5 separate regions of the Homo sapiens genome follow, and all the other regions are linked to region 1. Evidence: promoter capture Hi-C in 16 types of primary human blood cells and fetal thymus (Javierre and others, 2016). All regions are on one chromosome and are shown on one strand. Each heading gives the region's core, a stretch centred on a gene start or on the middle of the fragment in contact. The rest is flanking DNA. Distances are from core to core; before and after follow the strand shown. Region 1 holds the start of LINC03031 (long intergenic non-protein coding RNA 3031). Region 2 overlaps DCDC1 (doublecortin domain containing 1). Region 3 overlaps DCDC1 (doublecortin domain containing 1). Region 4 overlaps DCDC1 (doublecortin domain containing 1). Region 5 overlaps DNAJC24 (DnaJ heat shock protein family (Hsp40) member C24).

Region 1 (3,747 bases), core at 434-2,933:
TTATTATTATTATACTTTAAGTTCTGGGATACATGTGCAGAACGTGCAGGTTTGTTACATAGGTATACATGTGCCATGGTGTTTTTCTGCACCCATTAACCCATCATCTACATTAGGTATTTCTCCTAATGCTATCCCTCCTCTAGCCCCCCACCCCGCCACAGGCCCCGGTGTGTAATGTTCCCCTCCCTGCGTCCATGTCAATGCAAATATAGATGTTTATCTTTTTATAAATGATATCATAGTATATGTATTATTTTGTTGTTGTTTGTTTTGTTTTGTTTCTTGTGTCAGAGTCTCACTCTGTCATCCAGGCTGGAGTACAGTGGCACTGTCACAGCTCACAGCATCTTAGAATTATTCTGCTCAAAAAAATCCTTCTGCCTCAGCCTCCTGAGTAACTGGGACTACAGGTGTGCGCCACCATGCCCAGCTAATTTTTAAAAAATTCTTTATAGAGACTGTCTCACTATGTTGCCTAGGCTGGTCTTAAACTCTTGGCCTCCAGCAACCCTTCTGCCTTGGCCTCCGAAGTGCTCAGATTACAGGCATGAGCCACCGTGCCCTATTTATTACATATTATTTATAATGAATTCTTCTACAATACATTTATTAATCATCTTTACTCCAGACCATCATATGGCTGTATTCTAATATATTGTCCAATTCCTTAGTCTTTTTTTTTTTTGAGATGGAGTTTCTCTCTGTCACCCAGGCTGGAGTGCAGTGTTGCCATCTCGGCTCACTGCAACCTCCACCTCCCAGCTTCAAGCAATTCTCATGCCTCAGCTTCTCGGGTAACTGGGACTATAGGCACCCGCCACCACGCCTGGCTAATTTTTTTTTTTTTTTTTTTTTTAGTAGAGAAGGGGTTTTACCATGTTGGCTAGGCTGGTCTCAAACACCTGCAATCCCTTAGCCTTGTATACATATTTTTTTTCATTTCCTACCTTCTTTTTTTGCCATTATAAATAACACTGGGATGAACATCCTTGTAGATAAGTATTTCCACACATCCTGATTTTTTTCTAGTGAAGTTCTAGAACTGGAATTCAGGAAGATGTAATCACCATTGCTACTATTCCTTTTTTTAAAGCCCATTTTGATGTCATTGATCTTTCACTGTCTCCTCTGGTTGGGCAACTCTCAGTCAGGTTTTCAGAACAATAGCCCTTTGTCTGGTTTATGTTAAACAATATGAGAACTTGAACATTTTCTGTTCTGAAATATTCATAGGTTTTTTTTTTTTAATCTTCTACCATTGCAAGCAGTTAAAAACACAGCCTGGAGAAATGACATTTTTCTTTCAGAAAATGAATTGGTAATTTATTTGAATGAGGCTGGGTAGTTGTTTTAAATTATTACCTGATGCATACCACTAATGAAATGAAGTCCGTTTACATCTTTAAATAACCTTTAATATTTGTACAAGTAAATATCTCCATTTGACAATAATGGAAATTGTCAGAAATTTTCATTTTCTCACAATTTAGCTCACTCACAATGGCTGTCAGACAGCCGGATGATCTGACGCAGCGCACTGCTAATCGTTTCAGCAGAAGACAGTGTTTCAAAGGTACGGGAAAGGAGGTGCAGACACTAATGAAGTTTTATTATCAGAACATAGAATTAGGATTGTGACAAGAGACAATGGTGGCAATGACACGTAGTTAGAATGTTACAGCTTGTGAAGTCTGTAGCTAAATCTCAGGAACAGAAATGTTGAGAAGGGTAGACTGATGACTACCCCTCAGTGGAAACAGACCAGATCTCAGCTTATCTGGCTGGAAGGAAAGCAAAAAAACAAAGCAAAACCAACCAAAAAATCCTAAGAAACAAAAGACAGATTCAAGCCAATCTGTGATTTGTAAAATAAGCCAGGTGCAGGCTTGTGTAAGTATCCTTGACATACCCAAATGATGAAATTGGCATGCTTTGGTATGTTTGTTTTCAAAAACAAGGTGGTAAAAGCTGAATCCAATGGATCACAATTATACTAAGGACTCCAGGTTTGAAATACTGACATCGGTGATTAGAAATTATTTTGTGGGAGAGAGGGAAGGGAGGTAAAAAGAAGGAAGTAGAAAAAGGAGGGTGAGGAGGGTCCATCGTCATCCAAAATGGAGCCCACAGTAACAATCTCAGTGAGATGACCCTTCAGAATAGCCCTTGCCATTTATCCTTCATTCACTTATTAATATTTGATAGATACTTATTGTCTACTAAGTACCAGGCACTGCTCCACTGAACACCAGGATACAGTGGTGAATAAGACACATAAGGCCCCTATTTTCACAATTTATATTCTTTTGGGGGCTAGAGAGAAAATAAACAAATAAGAAAATATGACATATAGCACTATGGGCTATGCAAAGAATTATAATAAAGTGAAGTGATATGGTGCTGGGGAGGCTGTTTTATAAAGTATGTAGTGTGTGGTGGTCTTAAAGCAAGTCTTCAGGTACTTCGATACTGTTCTACTAGTAGGTAGAGTCTATGTCCCTTCCCCTTGCACCTGAGGGGCTTCTGTACCTACCTGGAAGAATAGGACACAAAGGAAGTGGCTATCAGTTTGAAAAGGCCATGCAGCTTCTGCTGATTTTTCTTGGAACATTCACTCTAGGTGCCTTCAGCTGAATGTAAGAAGTCCAGCTATCATGAAGTCTCCATGTGGACAGACAATTCAGAGGAATGAGAGAGAGAGAGACCTGAGCAGCTAGCAGTGCCAGCACCTAGATGTTTGAATCTTCCCAGCCCAGATACATGATGGAAAAAACTTCAAGATGCCCATTGGACAGCAACCACATGAAAGACCTGGAGTGAGAACTCCTAAGCTGAGATCTCACTCTTTCAGACTCCAGAGCCAAATAAATAATTATTAATGTTTAAGCCACTGTTTTGGTGTGGCAACAATAAAGGCCTGGAACAGGGTGATACGGGAAGGTTTCTTTGAGGATATGATGCTTATGCTGAAGACCTCAGTATCATGAAGGAGCCAGGGGAGAAAGAACATTCTGGGCAAAGGAAATGGTGGGAAGATCCTAAGTCAGAAGTGGATTTAGCAAGTTCAAGGAAGGAAAGCAGGCCAGTGAGGCTGAAATGCAACCCAGTAAGAGTGGTAGGAGATGAGTGAAGGCGTGTAGTAGAACTTCAGTTTGTGGGGAGGGTGTGCACTCACTCAAGTAATATCCTACAGTAAGGCTGAGCGTGGCCGTGAGCACCTTCCAAGTTTAACACTGGAACCCTGGTAGAGCTTGAATTCATTTTCTCTCCTGTCCCAGTGTCATGATAAAAAGTGCTAATAAAACTTTCCCAAACCTCATCTAATAACACTGAAGTCCAAGAGAAAGAGAAGGGTGGGTGTTTGGGCACTGCAGTTCTCCCCAGATAGCAGAGGATTTAACACCTTCTTGTTTAAATTAAAAACAAACAAACAAAAAAACAAAAACAAAAACTCCTTGGGCACAAATAATTAAAAACAATACTATATGGATATGTTTCAAGGACTGCAAGCATGCATGAGAATGCCTTTGAACTGTCGGATCACCTGGTCTTAAAAAGTCATTTTGCAGTTTCTACCTTCTTTAAACTGGTAGACCATTTTGTGGCTAATATGGAAATCTAAGAAATGCAAATATTGATACTACCAGAAAGTGAAGGGAAGCAGTCTGAATTTGCATTTTGTGGCAGTTACAAATGTCCTTTAACCTGTAGACAAAGGTCTCTCTGATTGAGGAGTGCCAGTGA
Region 2 (3,747 bases), core at 929-3,428, 950 kb after region 1:
ATAAAAAAGTTCATGTCCTTTGCAGGGACATGGATGAAGCTGGAAACCATCATTCTCAGCAAACTAACACAAGAACAGAAAACCAAACACCACATGTTCTCACTCATAAGTGGGAGTTGAACAATGAGAACAAAGGGACACAGGGAGGGGAACATCACACACCAGGGCCTGTCAGTGGGTGGGGAGCTAGGGAAGGGATAGCATTAGGAGAAATACCTAATGTAGATGACGGGTTGATGGGTGTAGCAAACCACCATGGCACGTGTATACCTATGTAACAAACCTGTTTGTTCTGCACATGTACCCCAGAACTTAAAGTATATATATAAAAAAAAAGAAGGCTTTCACTGGCTCCCTGCTGTCCACCTGACTCCATAGCTTTGCACTTGACACTTTCTACAGTTTGGACAAATTTACTTTTTGAGTCTACCTGCAGATCCTAAGACACATTGATTAAGCTTCCTTGCCTTTACTTGGAATACCTTTTTATTCTTTATTACTCCTGTCAAACTGTCCCCATCCTTCAAGGCCTGCTTTACATGTTAACGTCTTTCAAGATGCTCCACCTTTAGGTTACTCCAGCAGAAATGAGCGTACCATTTTTTCATGCCTATAATAACACTATTTAATCATTCATGTGGAGCTTAACATGAAAGGCAGGTGGGGAGAGAGAGAGAAGTTGCCTCTACTCTGTTGTATGTTTCTTTGGGTCAGGAAAAAATATTTTATAATATTCCACACCACACAGCATAGGGTCTTGCATAATAGAGTTGGTGCTCAACAAATATTGATTGAATTGAATTAAAGGGGATTGAATGCTACTTTTTGAAAAGAGGTATCAATCAGAATAAATAATGTTCTAGGATAACTTATTTTGGGTAAGTGTGTTGAGGAGTTTAACTCTTAGACTATGAGTTAAAAATGCATACTTCTTCTTATGATACAGGTAGATCCCAATATTGTCCTTCATGCCTCTGTTTCCATTGGAAAGTGGAGTTTCTCAGGCAGTGAAGCAAGCAGCAGGAGTCAAATAGCGCCATCGATCCTGTGGCCTGTAGCCAGTGTGTGGCTGATCACCAAGGTACCTAAGAGTGTCTGCTTTTGCTGAGTGACCTCCCCTTGCTTGCTGGCTCACGGCACTTGCTGGCACCTGGTGCTCTCATGCACATGGGCATACAAGTGAAAGCGTGATAAATTGTTGGCTGTTATAGATGCCATCTCTGCCGTTGGTATTGCCTAGCCCACGGGACTTCTGTAGATTCTCAAATGAGCATTCAGTTCACTATCAGACATGCTGCTGATTAGTTTATACCTCACAGTGTATTTAAACCAAGCATAGAATTTGTTTGTAGTCCACAGACTCATCATTTTCATGAGATTTGTCTGAATGTGCTTCTACTCCTAGATCTTCATTTTGAGTTTTACCCCTCAGCTTTCCTGAGCCTGGTAGATTACCAACATATACCAACTTTGCATATTGTCTTAGCAAGGACGTAGTTTTAAAAGAAATCCCTGAGTATAAACATGAGCAGTGCCTAACACATTTTGTTCCTGTGTGTTGGTAATATTTAATATTTTTCACTTTATTATTGTACTATTGTATATGACTTATAGAAGAACATAAAATTGTCCTTTCCTTTCATCTTACTACTGCAGTACATTTTGTAAATATGTATTTATGTTGAAAAGAGATGATGCAGTTCACAATTATCTTTCCTGTATCTCCCTTTGTCCCGTCATCACAGATGATTTTGCTACTACTTAGCACTCCTGTGAATGCGAAGTCACCCAATGAAGTTTGCTGGGAGGAGGGAAGATTGACACTATTTTCGCAAATGAAATTTTGGATTGCCCTTAGCTATTGTTCTTTAAAAGTTAAAAACAAACATATAGAATAATTAAGACACAAAGGTACTAAGACATATTATTTATTTCATATATCACAGCATAGTAAGTTTACATGAGCTTTTCCTGAAATCTGGATTTCCAGCTGGAGTCTATGTTAACTATTTGCCCTTTTTACATGGTATTTTGTTTCTGATTTAATAATAATAACATCTCCACTTAGTTGAATACTGTATGTCAGACATTACATTAGGTACTTTATTCACATTCATTATTTCATTTAATGTTACAAGAACTGTGCAGATTTTTATTATACAGCTGAAGAAACTGAGGTTAGTAATAGCAGAAGAAAGATTCTTGGTCTCTTTGACTTCAGAACTTTCATTGTGATATAAAACACTCCTCTATATTTGACTCACCTGTGAGCATAATGGAAGTGTTTTAGTCCCAGCACTGCCACTGAATAACTATATGACAGCAGACAAGTCACACATGGTATCTAGGCCTTGGTGTTCTATCAAAAAGAGTTGGACCAGTTGCTATGGAAGGTCCATTCTCAGATCCCATATTCTTTCATTTCATGGTATCTGTTTCTAGAATTTCATGATAGCAGAAAACATGTACTTGTCTAAAATCTCCTCAAAAATAATTGGAATGCCTACCAAAAGAGTATAGTTTTGGAGTTATTAAATAATTGAAATCTCTTGTGTGACATTGGGAAAGTTACTTAGCTGCATTGAACTACTGTTTTCTCTTCTATAAATGATGTTAGTCTTATCTGCTTTGCACAGTTGCTGTGAAGATGAAATGAGAAAGCATATGTGATGTTCAAGCATGGTGTCTGGTATACAGAAAGTGCTTAATAAATGATGGCTGCCTTTCCTCACCCTAAGCAGTTCTTTTTTCTGTATAGACAAGCATGATCAAACAAGGATTTCATTCAGTACTTACTAAAACCAATTTTTTTTAGAAATATTTTTCGTAAGTCATCAGTCATCATCATGTTTCTTTTCCACACTGCAAACACATGAGAAATAAAGTATATGCTAAAAAGGAAACAATTCTGAAAATCCTTTAAGATTGAACTCTCTCTTCCTGTTTTAAAAATACATCTTTTTACCTATTAAGAGAGAATTTTACGTGCCATAAATCTCCAGTAGATGTAGACAAATTTCTCTATGGTTGTCACTTATAAAAAATGTTGTGTTGACTCACTAAGTAAGAAAATGGTTAAATGGCCCTTCAAGCAATATTCCCCTTTAATTTCCTTGGCAGAAAATCCTAACATTTAAAATAAAAGCAGTTCACAAACCACCTTAAAATGTTTAACCCATGATATTTAGACCCAGAGTAAAACTTTAAATTGATACAAAGGTTAAGGATTTGTTTCAGTCTTTTCAGTTCACTGCACTATTTTTTTTCTGTGCATACATATTTCCGGTAAGCTCTGTAGTTATAACTACAGCAAGTGACACGTGATGGACCCCAAATTGCTGCACTGTGAAATATGCACAGAAAAAAAAAGACAAATGAAGATATCAAGGTCTGTTTTATTTCGCACTGAACTGTAAAATGCCACCCTTGTTGGACAGAAGATTACTGATTCTGAGCAGGGCTCGCTGACTGCTAAGTTGTGGGTAGTGTTTCACTTTCAGCAACTGTTAATATCCAGGGTTATCCAGGCATAATGACCTCACTATTTGTGACACATTGTTGAATTTTCTGGTTCTTTTAACTTATTTAGACCTTTCTCCCCCTCTCTATTCATTGGAAGACTGGAATGATCCTGAGCCGAGCGATAACTCAGGGCTGCCTGGCTATTGGTCATCCTATCAGAGTCAAGGCTGCTGAGGGAACATCACTAGAAGGATATAAATTAATCTTACAGAAAAGGTAATGCTT
Region 3 (3,747 bases), core at 373-2,872, 920 kb after region 1:
GTGGGACCTAGAGCTTGTCAAATTTGGGAGCCAGCTTGGGGTGGGGAGCTCTCTTTGAAATTAGGTCTGAAAGTGAATATTTATTTAGAATGAGAAAGTAAATCGCAACAAATCAATGGAGTGTTGGCAATTCAGGCTCTTTCTTCTGGGTCTTTTTTAGGCAGCTCATCAGAAATACTTACACAGAAGTATTTTATGACAACTTCCAGAACTCTTAGGACCTAGAATGACTCTAATCTTCATTAACTTCACTTAAATCCACTCTGACCATGAGCAAGAGAAATATGGTGGAATTTAGTAACCTGGATAATAACAAGATTCATAGCACTCTGATTTGGAGACATTTTTAGGCTTTCTATTTTTATATTGTTTAGTTATAGTGTTCTCTTCTATTGTAAGTAAATTTAAGCTTTGTTAAAGGGATAATTCAGAGATTTCTTTTTTAAAGGATGTCTTCATCCAGCATCTAGTTCATCATCCAGGTTGTATGCATCTAACAATTTTTATTCTGCCAATGACAGAAAGGAAGAAGATTTTAAATGAATAGTCCAGTAAATCCACATATTATCAAATAGCCTTGTCCAGAAGACATTGTGCTAGGAACTGTGGGAAGATGCAGAGAAGCATAGAACACCTTTTTGACCCAAGGCCACGATTATTTTCATACAATTAGAAACAATATGACAACACTATGAACAGATTAGCAAAACCAATCTGTTCATCTTCTTACCTTTTTACTACAATTCCATTATTTTAAGTTCCCAGGCCTCTTTACATTTTGAAAATGGGCTAATTTGGTTGGTAACAGAAAACATGTGACTTTCCTGTGCATTGAATACTTAAATTTATTCTTTGAATGGCACAAAAGCACCATGAAAGAAGTTGAGATTTGCCTTCTATTTTGTGGTCATTTTTAAAAAAGTTTAAAGTTTCCAATCATTCATTTGTATTAATAGAAAGCTTATTTTAATATTTAGGAATCTATGGAACAATTAAATGATAACTAAGGTCAGTTGCACATGAAAGTGTGACAAGATTTTTTTTGGTTGGTGTTTTCACTGTTCTATGTGCATATTACGTTATTTCCATTGTACATTCCTTGATCCGTGTCGTTCTTATTTAACCACTTTTCCTAAACATGTATTTATAACCCCTAGGATGCTCTGTTATGTCACCTAAATTATTTGAGTAAACAATGGGAAACAAATTTAGGATATGGCTTAGGTACAGTTAGTAAAACATGCCAACTTTGCGTTCATTTGAAAAGGAATTGTGGTGAGAGTAGCAAAATTGGAATATTCAAGGTTATTGTGATTTTGAGAACATTCACTAAAGGTTGGGCAAAATGTAATGAAGATGATCAATTTTCATATGTAGGTTTTACGATAGTAGGAAAATATTGGACTGCCCATTTTAAAGGTAAAGAAACAGATCCTACGAAGCCTTTACACATCTCATGTGATAGCTAATTAGCGGCAGGTGCTGAAATCTCTTGACTCTTCTTTGCAGCGCTCTTTTCCATCTTGCCACCACCTTTTCTTCCTCCTGTCCTCATTGCCCCACTCCTCCTCCTCTTTGTGGATTTTGGGGGGAAAATGCCAGTATATTCATACTACCTTATTTTCTGACAGGCATCTGCAGTCAGGTGTAAATCTCCGTAGGAAGATACAATCTTCCTTTTCAAGATGTGCTGAAGAGAAAAACTGCGTCTGTATCAAAATCAGGGAAGAGCAATTGGTCTGGGCATTAGCTCCCATGCAGTGCCTGTTATAATGAGACAGGCTTTCCCTGTGCAGGCCTGACATCCTAGAAGGTGCCCGGAGAATTGCCAGGTGGGCAGTCAGCGGGGAAAGTCCACAGGCCAGAGCTGTATTACTGTCCCAGCAGTTATTCGGACTAAATGCAACCACTGAACCTTACTGTTGCAGGCACACACTCTCTCTCAGTGAGATTGTCCTTCTCCATAACAGTTAATTTGTTTTTACCTCTCAATTAGCTTTTTCACGGAGTGTTTGATATGTTCAAGTTGCTGAGATTCCTTTCCTACATATGTTCCCGTCCCCTGGATTACCGACTGACATCTATGTTAGTCTGACTCACCATGAACGTTATCGAGCATAAATTCTTCATTTGAACATAAATGAATGCAGATTTTCTCGTAAGTGAAAATGGGGTGATGAATTTACACCTACTTAAGATTCTACCTAGTTTTGATTGTGTTTTATGATGAAAAAAATGGATTACTTCTTAAAATATAAATGTTTTATTATAGATAGTAAGCTTTTGTACAGCTTTTAGTTTCTCAGGATACTCATTCACTTTAGGGGAAAATTATGTTTACAGGCATATTTGATATAAAGAAATGAAACTGAATGGCAGTAAAAGCATACACTCTTTCCAAGGGTAAGAATATGATCTATAAGGCTGATAATTTGGGGAAAGTTTGATGATTTAGTTTATATTTAATCCTACAATGTTCATTTCTCCTAGTAAAATAAAATTTGAGGGGCACATGACTATGTTTTTCTCATCAAAAAAACACTGACTTTCTATAAAAATAAATATATTGGTGCCAGGAAACTCCAAAAACCTTTATTTACCAAGCTCTTTTTACAAAATACATCATACTCAGCTACTGACAGGACCCACATGCCTGATATTTTAATCCCGATTAAATATAATTTTAGGGATTAAGTTAATTTAGACAAAGTGAAATCCTTGTTGCAATTCTTCTTGAGATATTCCATTTATAAAGGGCTTTTTGAAATTACTTGGCTTAGGACATGACACGCAAGCAAATTTCCTTTGCCACTGTCTTCTGGAAAGTTTTAAACATTTTCATATATTGAACTTAGATTTGCAATTGGATACAAATTGATTTTTTGTTTTTTTTTTGCAGAAACATATGCCTTATTTTTTGTCAATAGTCACAGCAAAATGGGGTAAGACTATTTAAAAAAATACTATAAGAAAACAATGGAAAGTGAGTTTAGATACTTACAAGGAAGGAATGTGGGCCCACTCCCAAGATCACTGAGAAGCTGATGAGGGCCATTTTACAGGAGTCTCCTTTGGCCCTTCCTCTGCTCCAGCCCTCCATTAGGGCTGGCAGATAACCCAGGCTCTTATTACCACCCTTTGCTCAAAACTTGCTCTTAGGAAAGAGACATGCCATTCTTTGTTTTGAGCTAAGATAGTAGTTTAGAATTTTTTTTTTTTTCCTGAAATCAAAATTCTTTCTTGGAATCTACTATGTAAAATAGATAAAAGTAGGATCTACCCTGTTTGAAGCCAGGATAGTGGCTGCTTCCACATAGTCACTCATCAGATCTGATTCCCCGTGTGAAACCACTGTTGCCCAACCCCCTAATCCCAGCCTACCCTAGGCCTCTGAGGGGTACCAGAAAGCTGCGATTGAAAATCACAGCCTTAGAGGATCAATAACCAATGAGGCTGAATATAATTTCCCCTCATGCAGCTGTGGCATTTTAATTGTGACAAAGGAGTGAATCTCTAACTGAAATTTCAAGTATTGGCAAGTTGGTGGGAGAGATATTTTGAGGTTAGAGTCTTTGGGCTCCCTTCTAAAATCCTACCCTATAGGCAGCCACCTACTTTACATACTTCGAAATGGTGAGCTCTGCTATATCTTACAATGGAATTTTAAAGTATCTCCTTCCAAAAAGTTATCTTCTTTGGTATGCCTTTTCTGGGCTTAAAAAAAAATTGATTGTTGGTCCAGTTACC
Region 4 (3,747 bases), core at 644-3,143, 820 kb after region 1:
AATTGCTGTTGTTTAAGCTATCCAGTCGATGGAATTTTCTTATGGTAGCTCAAGCTGACTAATAGAGTCTTCTTGTTCAAATGGTACTTTGCACATTCAAAATTGGTTTTTAACATCAATTGTAAAATCAGACATGTTGAATTTTTAAAAAGTTGATTTGTCTTACATAAAATTTTAATACAAAATATAAAGTGTAAATATAACATAATGCATCTGATTTTTAAAAACAAACATAAATCAGAAATTACACAGCCTGAGTACAGTAAGCAGACTTCAATCTTGTGAGGTTATTTTAGCAATACTGCCTTGCTCAAAACCATTTTGGATTTACCTTAATTGCATTCTTTTGAATATTGTCAGTGATGATGTTTACATCTTTGCAGTGTGAATTTAAATTTTTGGAAATTCAAAAAGTAATTTTTGTTAAATTTGGTGAAACATTTAGTATTAAGTATCAAAAATAGTTTCATCAAGAATATATTATGAAGCTGCGTATTTTCATTAGGACCTAATTCCTAGATAAATATTGCCCATTACACGTTTCAAAGATTCTTCTAAATGCTTCAGGAATTGTACATGATAATCCTTATTGAGTGTTTTATTTTGTGGTATGAATTTTATAAGAATGTCATTTGTGTCAAAGAAATAAAATTATCTTCACTGGTGATTTTGACATGGACTTCCTAGAATATAGGGTTATTGTTATTAAATCTTCTCTTTTTCTGTTCACATGAAATTCATGGCGTATCTTCAGAGTAATTTTAAAAAATTTTCTGGCCAATCCAGTATCCTGTACTGTTTCAGGTGTGGGGGCTGGAGTCAGATTGCTTCAGGTCAAGTCCAGGCTTTCGTGTTTAACCAGCTCTGAGGTCTTAGGCAAGTTAACTAACCCCTGTTTTCAGGTTTCTTATCTGTAAAATGAGGTTAATAATAGGATTGTTGTGAGATTATACCTGTAAACACTTAAAAATGAGATAATACCTAAAAATGGTAAAATTTATATGTGCTTATATGGTGCCTGGCTTATAGAAAACAATAAATATTAGCTATTATTACCATCATCATATCATCATTCTCTGCTCATATCCAATCACTGCCTGCCACCTTTGTCGAGCACAGTGCCTTGTCCTTAGTTGGTATATTTGTTGATAAACCAGTGAAAGAATGAAAACCCTTTTCAAGATTTCTTTTAGAATAAGTCTAATTCTTTGACTAAATTTAACTCTTTGGTCATCTTTCTTTCAATTATTTATTTGAATGCACTAAATATCATATCTTCAACATTTTCTGTCTTACAGTAAGGGGTTTCTAAGCCTGACAGCATCAGAATCACATAGGTCCCGCCTCTGCTCATGTTTATATTCAGCAGACCTGGGCAGGACCAGGGGGCTAGTTTATTGAAAATGCTCTAGAGTTGATTCTGATACTCAAGCTAGGTTGAAGTATTGTGAGAGTGAGTCTTATTTTCTTAATGAAATTTTTGAGATCAGTTAAAAAAAATCTTGTTTTTGACATAACTTTATCCCCTCCAGCTTCTTTTTACAGGTCATGTACTATTTTGCAGATACATTTGTTAAAAATCTAAATTTATTCTAAAATTTTTACTTTTTTTTTTAACTGTAAATTGTTTTGTGCTCTAAATTGTTTGCTTTGTAATGTGGGCTGTGTGTGTGTGTATGTATGTGAGAGTGTGTGTGCTTCTTTAGCACCAACTCAGGCATGGGCTGGCCAGCCTTCGGAGCTCCGTTCTTCCAGGTCAAAGCTTGTTTAAACTTGTCCTTGCTATGATCACTCCTTCACTGTTTCTTCAAGCCATGCATGAGAATCAGCCTCATTACTTTAAAGCAGCACCTCATATGCTCAGAATGCTCTGCCATCTAATTTCAGCAAAATTACATATCTACCCACCAAATTTTACTAAAAATTAGGACCTTGTCATAATATTGGGATTTTTCCAGTTTTGGTACACAACTAATATACTAGTTAATGGGAGTGAGGGAGGAAGAATGAAGGTAGAAAGCTTCAAGTTAAAAGTTAGAATATAGGTTTGAAATATTAACGTTACTTAGAGTTAGACACTGAGTTTTTAATCCTCTCCAACTTATCATCTGTTTGACATTTAGCTGTTACATTTTATTATGACCCTTTTTTTCTTTTATAAAAGTATATTTATGCTGATGTCATAAAAGATAAAATTTAGTTCTGGAAGCTCTCTGCAAATGTCATTGGACACTGGGCAATAAATGTAACCCAAATAACCTGATGTCAGGGAAAATAAAAATCAAGGCAGCATTCTAATGATAATAGCTTTAAAAAAGTGAATGTCTCTTTAAGGAAAACAGAATCTTTTGTTACATTTAAGTAGTGACTTGAAATTGGAAACATAGAAAGTTGGATTTGAAAAGGAAGTGATTGCTTTAATTTTTTCCCTATAAACATTTATTCTTAGAGTATCAAGAGAAAAGCTTTTGAGAAGAATGATGATGACAATATCTTGTATTTTATACCAATGTGTATTATCAATTGCATTAGTTTTCTAGTGTTTTGGCTTTTGTGAGAACTTCAGTACACATTAGAAATATTTTCTCTTCTTTTTCAATGTTCTCATTAATTAAAAAAATCTGTAATTATATTTTCTGCTTTGGAAATATTTATATTACGACTTTTTTTTTTCTTAAAGCAAATGACAAAAGATAAAAAGTAAAAGATAAAAATTTAGGAAAAAAGGTTTTCTCCACTTAGTGGGTACATATTTTAGAGAGGAGATATTTCTGCATTTTGTAATGCTGATATTTCTTTGAAATATATAGCATAGATTTTCAAACAATAGCCAATAGCCAAAACAGATTGGACACACTATCTTTGTTGGGAGACATGGGCAGAGATATAGAGTACACATTATGAAAAAATCTATTTTTTCAGTTGAATTCCACTTGCATATTACTTCTCTGACAATTCTATAAAAATGAAGAGATATTACTTTAGTGACTTTTGTTAAATTTAGAAAGAAAATCTTATTAGCATGCATGTGGGATTAAATGTTGTATCATTTATAATAATATGTGTTTTACTACTTCTTATTTTTAAAATATCCTGTCTTTCAGTAATTAATTCCCCTTTGAGTTGAGTATATCCTTGCCTGAAACAGAATAGTTTCAGTGGATAAACAATGGGATGGCACATATAGAAGTACATAGTTTTTCTGTAGAAGATAGTTTCCAGTGATAACATTTGGATCTTTTCTTACAGAGGTGCTTCTAGTTTTCTATTTTATGTCTAACTTATAGATGGATAATATGGACTAGTTTGTGCTCTTCCTTTGTATACATATATACTTGACCCATTTGTGATTTAACTTACTATGACAGCTTTTCAAAATCGACCGGAGTTGTTTATAGTCCTCCAGATCAGAGTATCTAAAAACTTAGTTTTTTAAAAAATTGACTTAAAATCACTTTGAAGTCCATATAGTTCAGATTATACATAAAAATTTGTATATACTTACAAATAGACTTACCTATTTTCAAATATGCAAATCAGCACAGACCAAAAGTAAAGACATTGCACCTGCTTCTTCCCATAATTTATCTTTGTGAAATGACAGCTTGCTTTTGACACTTCTGTGAAATGTTAAAAGTTGAGTGTGCCTCTTACCTCCCTTTTCTATCATCTCCCTCTCCCTGTTGTAGGCTTAATGTAGAGGAGGGGGAGTGATTTACCCCAGCAGGGAGGATCCTTCTTTATTGC
Region 5 (3,747 bases), core at 508-3,007, 630 kb after region 1:
TGACACACTCAATAACACAAATGAGTATCTAAAATATATGTTAAGTAAAAGAAGCAAGAACAAAAAGTACATACTGTATGATTACATGAACATGAAATCCCAATTTAGGTACATTTAATCTGTGGCGACAGAAACCAAAAAGTTGGTTTCCAGGTGAGAACAGGTAGTGGAAATTAAGAAAGAGGGGCATGAGGGAACTTGCTGGAGGCACAGAAATGTGCTATATCTTATTTGGGGTGGTATTTACATGATATCAAACTCACCAAACTTAACACTTAAGATCTGTGCATTTTTCATTTTATGTTGACAATATCAACAGAAAAACATCTTCAGACATGTCTAAATTTTTAAAAAGGAATTTAGCAAATCTTTCTAAGCCATAAAGGAAAAATAAGGAATTTCTTCCATTAATAGAAAAACAAGTACAACAGAAAACCAAAAAATTAATGGAAAAACTAACATGAATTAGTGAAAAGCTTGAATTACACACTAGTTTATGGAAATTGTTTTATTACTTTCAAGCACATTTGCCAACTCTAATAACTTCAAAACATTTTAAAAGGCTAAGCATTGTTGAGTAGAAAGCCAAAATGCATCCAAAATTAAAATACCATAAATATGTCACAATATTAGAAATACTGAGAGTGATAGTATCTGTGTGATTCTTTATTATACAAAGACATCTATTTCCAAAATTTCAGTAAAGTGCTATTTTATTACTCTGAAATGACTTCACACCTATAACTGTATGATCTAAGTAATTTCCTCAAATTTTGGGGAAAATTTTCAATTACATAAACTTAAATTCTTCTTTAAATTACCATATCATTCATTGAGAATAAGAAAAACTAACACAAAAATAGATTAAGAAACTTTCTTGATACAAAAATAAAGGATCATTCATGGTACTACAAAAGATATACAGGAAATGATATAATATTTCATCAGGATTGGTATGTGTTATCTGTTTTCTAAATGACTATTTCATGGATAAGTAACACTTCAGTTATGAAATCTTAATTCTCATCAGCTGAGATTTTATGGCAATGGGCTGTCCAGTATGAAATATTTTATTTTGATTTTAAAGTCTCTCTACATATTAAGTCTAAGTGCTTTCTAAATTACTAATTCCAGAGTGACTGTCACAATGTGTCACCTCAGTGCTACTCAAAATGTGGTCCTCAGAACTGCAGCATCAGCATCATCTGAGAGCTTGTTACAAATATCAATTCTTGGGACTCACCTCAAATCTTCAGAGGGAGGACTCCAGAATCTCTGTTTCACCAAGCTCTCCAAGCAACTGTTACGCGTGCTAAAATTTGAGAAGCACACTGTTTGCCTTGACTGCTTAAAACAAGGAATTCATGGGCAAGTCAGAAGATGAGTGCTTCACAAAAATTTTCCTGTGACAGATGCGTCCTTCCAAGTATGTACACCAAAAAGAGGGGGAAAAAATCCAATAACCTGTAACACCACAATGAAAATTGCAATGTGTTTCAAGTCGGAATTTTTTTTATATTTGATACCTTTCGTTCACTAATCATAAATGTCAACTTCTTCATTCCACTGTTTGTATTGATACCATCTTATGTCACAGATGAAGATGCTGATGAAATGTGAACAATATGCCAGTGGTATTTTAACCTGTTTATTTTTTTTTTTTTAAGAGAGGGGCATAATTTGTATCAGGCTTCACCTACTTAACACTAATGATGATACCCACTGATAAATTTAGCACAGAAACAAGTTTTTCAACTAAGAAATGAAGCATGTAAAATTATGAAAATAGCATCATACAATGCAGTGTGAAAATTCTAGCAACTTCTAAAAGATTTTAGTGAAAAATTTTATATATATATATATATATTTTTTTTTTTTTTTTTTTTTTTGAGATGGGATCTCTCTCTGTCATCTGGGCTGGAGTGTAATGGAGTGATCCTGGCTCACTGCAACCTCTGCCTCCCAGGCTCAAGCGATCCTCCCGCCTCAGCCTCCCAAGTAGCTGGAACCACAGGCATATACCACCGCACCTGGCTAATTTTTGTATTTTCTGTAGAGATGAGGTTTCCATATTGCCCAGGCTGGTCTCCAACTCCAAGACTCAAGTAATCCATCCACCTTGTGAATATTATATATTCATTAGCTCCAAATGATATTTTCTATTGGCTACACAACATATAAAGTTGAAATGAAATGATATTTCTTTACAGTAAACACGTAAGAGTTTTATGGTAAAGTGGCTACATATATTAATCCTTAACTACACACTTGTGATTGTGCTGTTTTGATACATAAAATATAAACTATACATAAGAAGTAACAATAAACCATGAAAAGGACTCTGGGCAAATCTGATTACACAGAAATCCCCAAATAGGCTAATATTACTTGATTTATCAATGTGGCACTTGAGGACATAGCACTTTGGTTTTCCCTATGTATTAATAGATGAGTTTTAGTACCATCAATAGGATGCTAGCTCTCTGTCTCTAGCTTCAAATTTTCTTGAATTCTAGAACCAAATTTTGAAATACTTTCTAGAAGCTACCTTGTCAGCACAAGTTTAATATGTTTGATATCCAATATATTATCCAGACTCTAAAATTTGTTTATCCTCCTGTTGAATTCCTTGCTCTGTTAAAAAATAACTCCACGCTCAATAAATGCTAAATGAATGGATGAGAGGGGAAAAATTTTTCTAATAATCCAGACTATCAATATTAGGGTAACCCCTCTTTCCCTCCTCCCATGAACTGCCAAATCTATAGATTATACCTACATAATTTCCTTTCTATTCCCAATACCAAACCTAGTACAGACCAACATTAGCTCCTAACTAGTCCCCAGCAATCATCTTCTAACAGCTTTCCAATCCATCTTACCTGCTTCAAAGTCACTCAACATAACTCTGACCATGTCATTCCCCAGCTCATAAATTTTAAAGGGCCAACTAATGCATAGTGAATTACAGTGAAACTCTTTATCCTTAAAAGTAAAGTCCTACAATATAAGAACCACAACCTACCATTCAAGCTTTATCTATTACAAGTATTAAACACTGAATATATAAACACCGTATTTTAACTATATCCATATCTGTGCAAAGATCAGCACAGTGCCTCTTCGCACAAGTATCCTTCATAAATATTTGTATATTTAAGCTGTGTGTTTAATATTTTCCCCAAAAGTACAAAATATGAAACTTACTGATTTTAGTCAGCAACATACAGGAGGAGAGATAAATTTTAGGTTTAGTCTGAGGTACTGCACTTAAGTGCCTTTTCTCTCATACTCTTTCCTAGTGAACAAGTATTTACTATGTCATTCTATTACATTGAAACTATGAAAAAATGATATGAAAATGCTTCAGCCCAATGATCTCCCTTCAAATACTTTTCAAATTGAGGAATGAGATATAGAGGAAACAAACACTAAGAGGAATGCATTCAAAAGAATACATTTGGAAAAAAAAAAGGATTTGTAGCTGCTATGATTTGAACGTGTGCCCAATCCAAAACTCATGTTAAATTTCATTGTCATTGTGACAGTACTAGGAGGTAGTACCTTTCAGCAGTGATTGGGCCATGACTGCTCTGCCCTCATGAATAGACTAATGTTATATTTCTGGAGTGGATTCCTTATAAAAGGCTAATTTTGGCCCCCCTTTTGCCTATGTAGCAGGCGCTTGAGTTTGCTAGTCATGGGATGGGACAGCAGTAAACAGAAAACTCTTGCCAGATGCTGGCC

Evidence for each region. The method cuts DNA at HindIII sites, captures the fragments that hold promoters and counts their contacts. A CHiCAGO score of 5 or more calls a contact.
Region 2: a contact is called between a fragment that was not itself captured here and the fragment with the promoter of LINC03031 in region 1, in 1 of 17 cell types (non-activated CD4 T cells). The highest score is 5.1, in non-activated CD4 T cells.
Region 3: a contact is called between a fragment that was not itself captured here and the fragment with the promoter of LINC03031 in region 1, in 2 of 17 cell types (naive CD8 T cells and endothelial precursors). The highest score is 7.1, in naive CD8 T cells.
Region 4: a fragment that was not itself captured here is called in contact with the fragment with the promoter of LINC03031 in region 1 in 3 of 17 cell types (naive CD8 T cells, total CD4 T cells and endothelial precursors); the score reaches 6.9 in naive CD8 T cells.
Region 5: a fragment that was not itself captured here is called in contact with the fragment with the promoter of LINC03031 in region 1 in 3 of 17 cell types (naive CD8 T cells, naive CD4 T cells and megakaryocytes); the score reaches 6.3 in naive CD8 T cells.

What each region holds. Positions count from the first base shown.
Region 1 is chr11:32,039,254-32,043,000 of GRCh38, reverse strand. It overlaps LINC03031 (long intergenic non-protein coding RNA 3031), which reads left to right and starts at 1,683. Exons shown (of 3, transcript NR_120526.1): 1 at 1,683-1,893. It overlaps LOC105376613 (a long non-coding RNA gene), which reads right to left and starts at 1,037. Exons shown (of 3, transcript XR_931165.3): 1 at 951-1,037. The HindIII fragment of the contact is 15,155 bases long and covers 1-3,747 here.
Region 2 is chr11:31,091,384-31,095,130 of GRCh38, reverse strand. It overlaps DCDC1 (doublecortin domain containing 1), which reads left to right. Exons shown (of 39, transcript NM_001387274.1): 16 at 947-1,081; 17 at 3,620-3,738. Among named protein-coding and RNA genes, the nearest start is that of DCDC1, 280 kb to the left of the region's middle. The HindIII fragment of the contact is 3,436 bases long and covers 461-3,747 here.
Region 3 is chr11:31,116,854-31,120,600 of GRCh38, reverse strand. The region is part of intron 11 of DCDC1 (doublecortin domain containing 1); the gene reads left to right. Among named protein-coding and RNA genes, the nearest start is that of DCDC1, 250 kb to the left of the region's middle. The HindIII fragment of the contact is 1,320 bases long and covers 963-2,282 here.
Region 4 is chr11:31,217,042-31,220,788 of GRCh38, reverse strand. The region is part of intron 9 of DCDC1 (doublecortin domain containing 1); the gene reads left to right. Among named protein-coding and RNA genes, the nearest start is that of DCDC1, 150 kb to the left of the region's middle. The HindIII fragment of the contact is 258 bases long and covers 1,765-2,022 here.
Region 5 is chr11:31,405,827-31,409,573 of GRCh38, reverse strand. All of the region lies in intron 2 of DNAJC24 (DnaJ heat shock protein family (Hsp40) member C24), which reads right to left. Among named protein-coding and RNA genes, the nearest start is that of DNAJC24, 38 kb to the right of the region's middle. The HindIII fragment of the contact is 2,557 bases long and covers 479-3,035 here.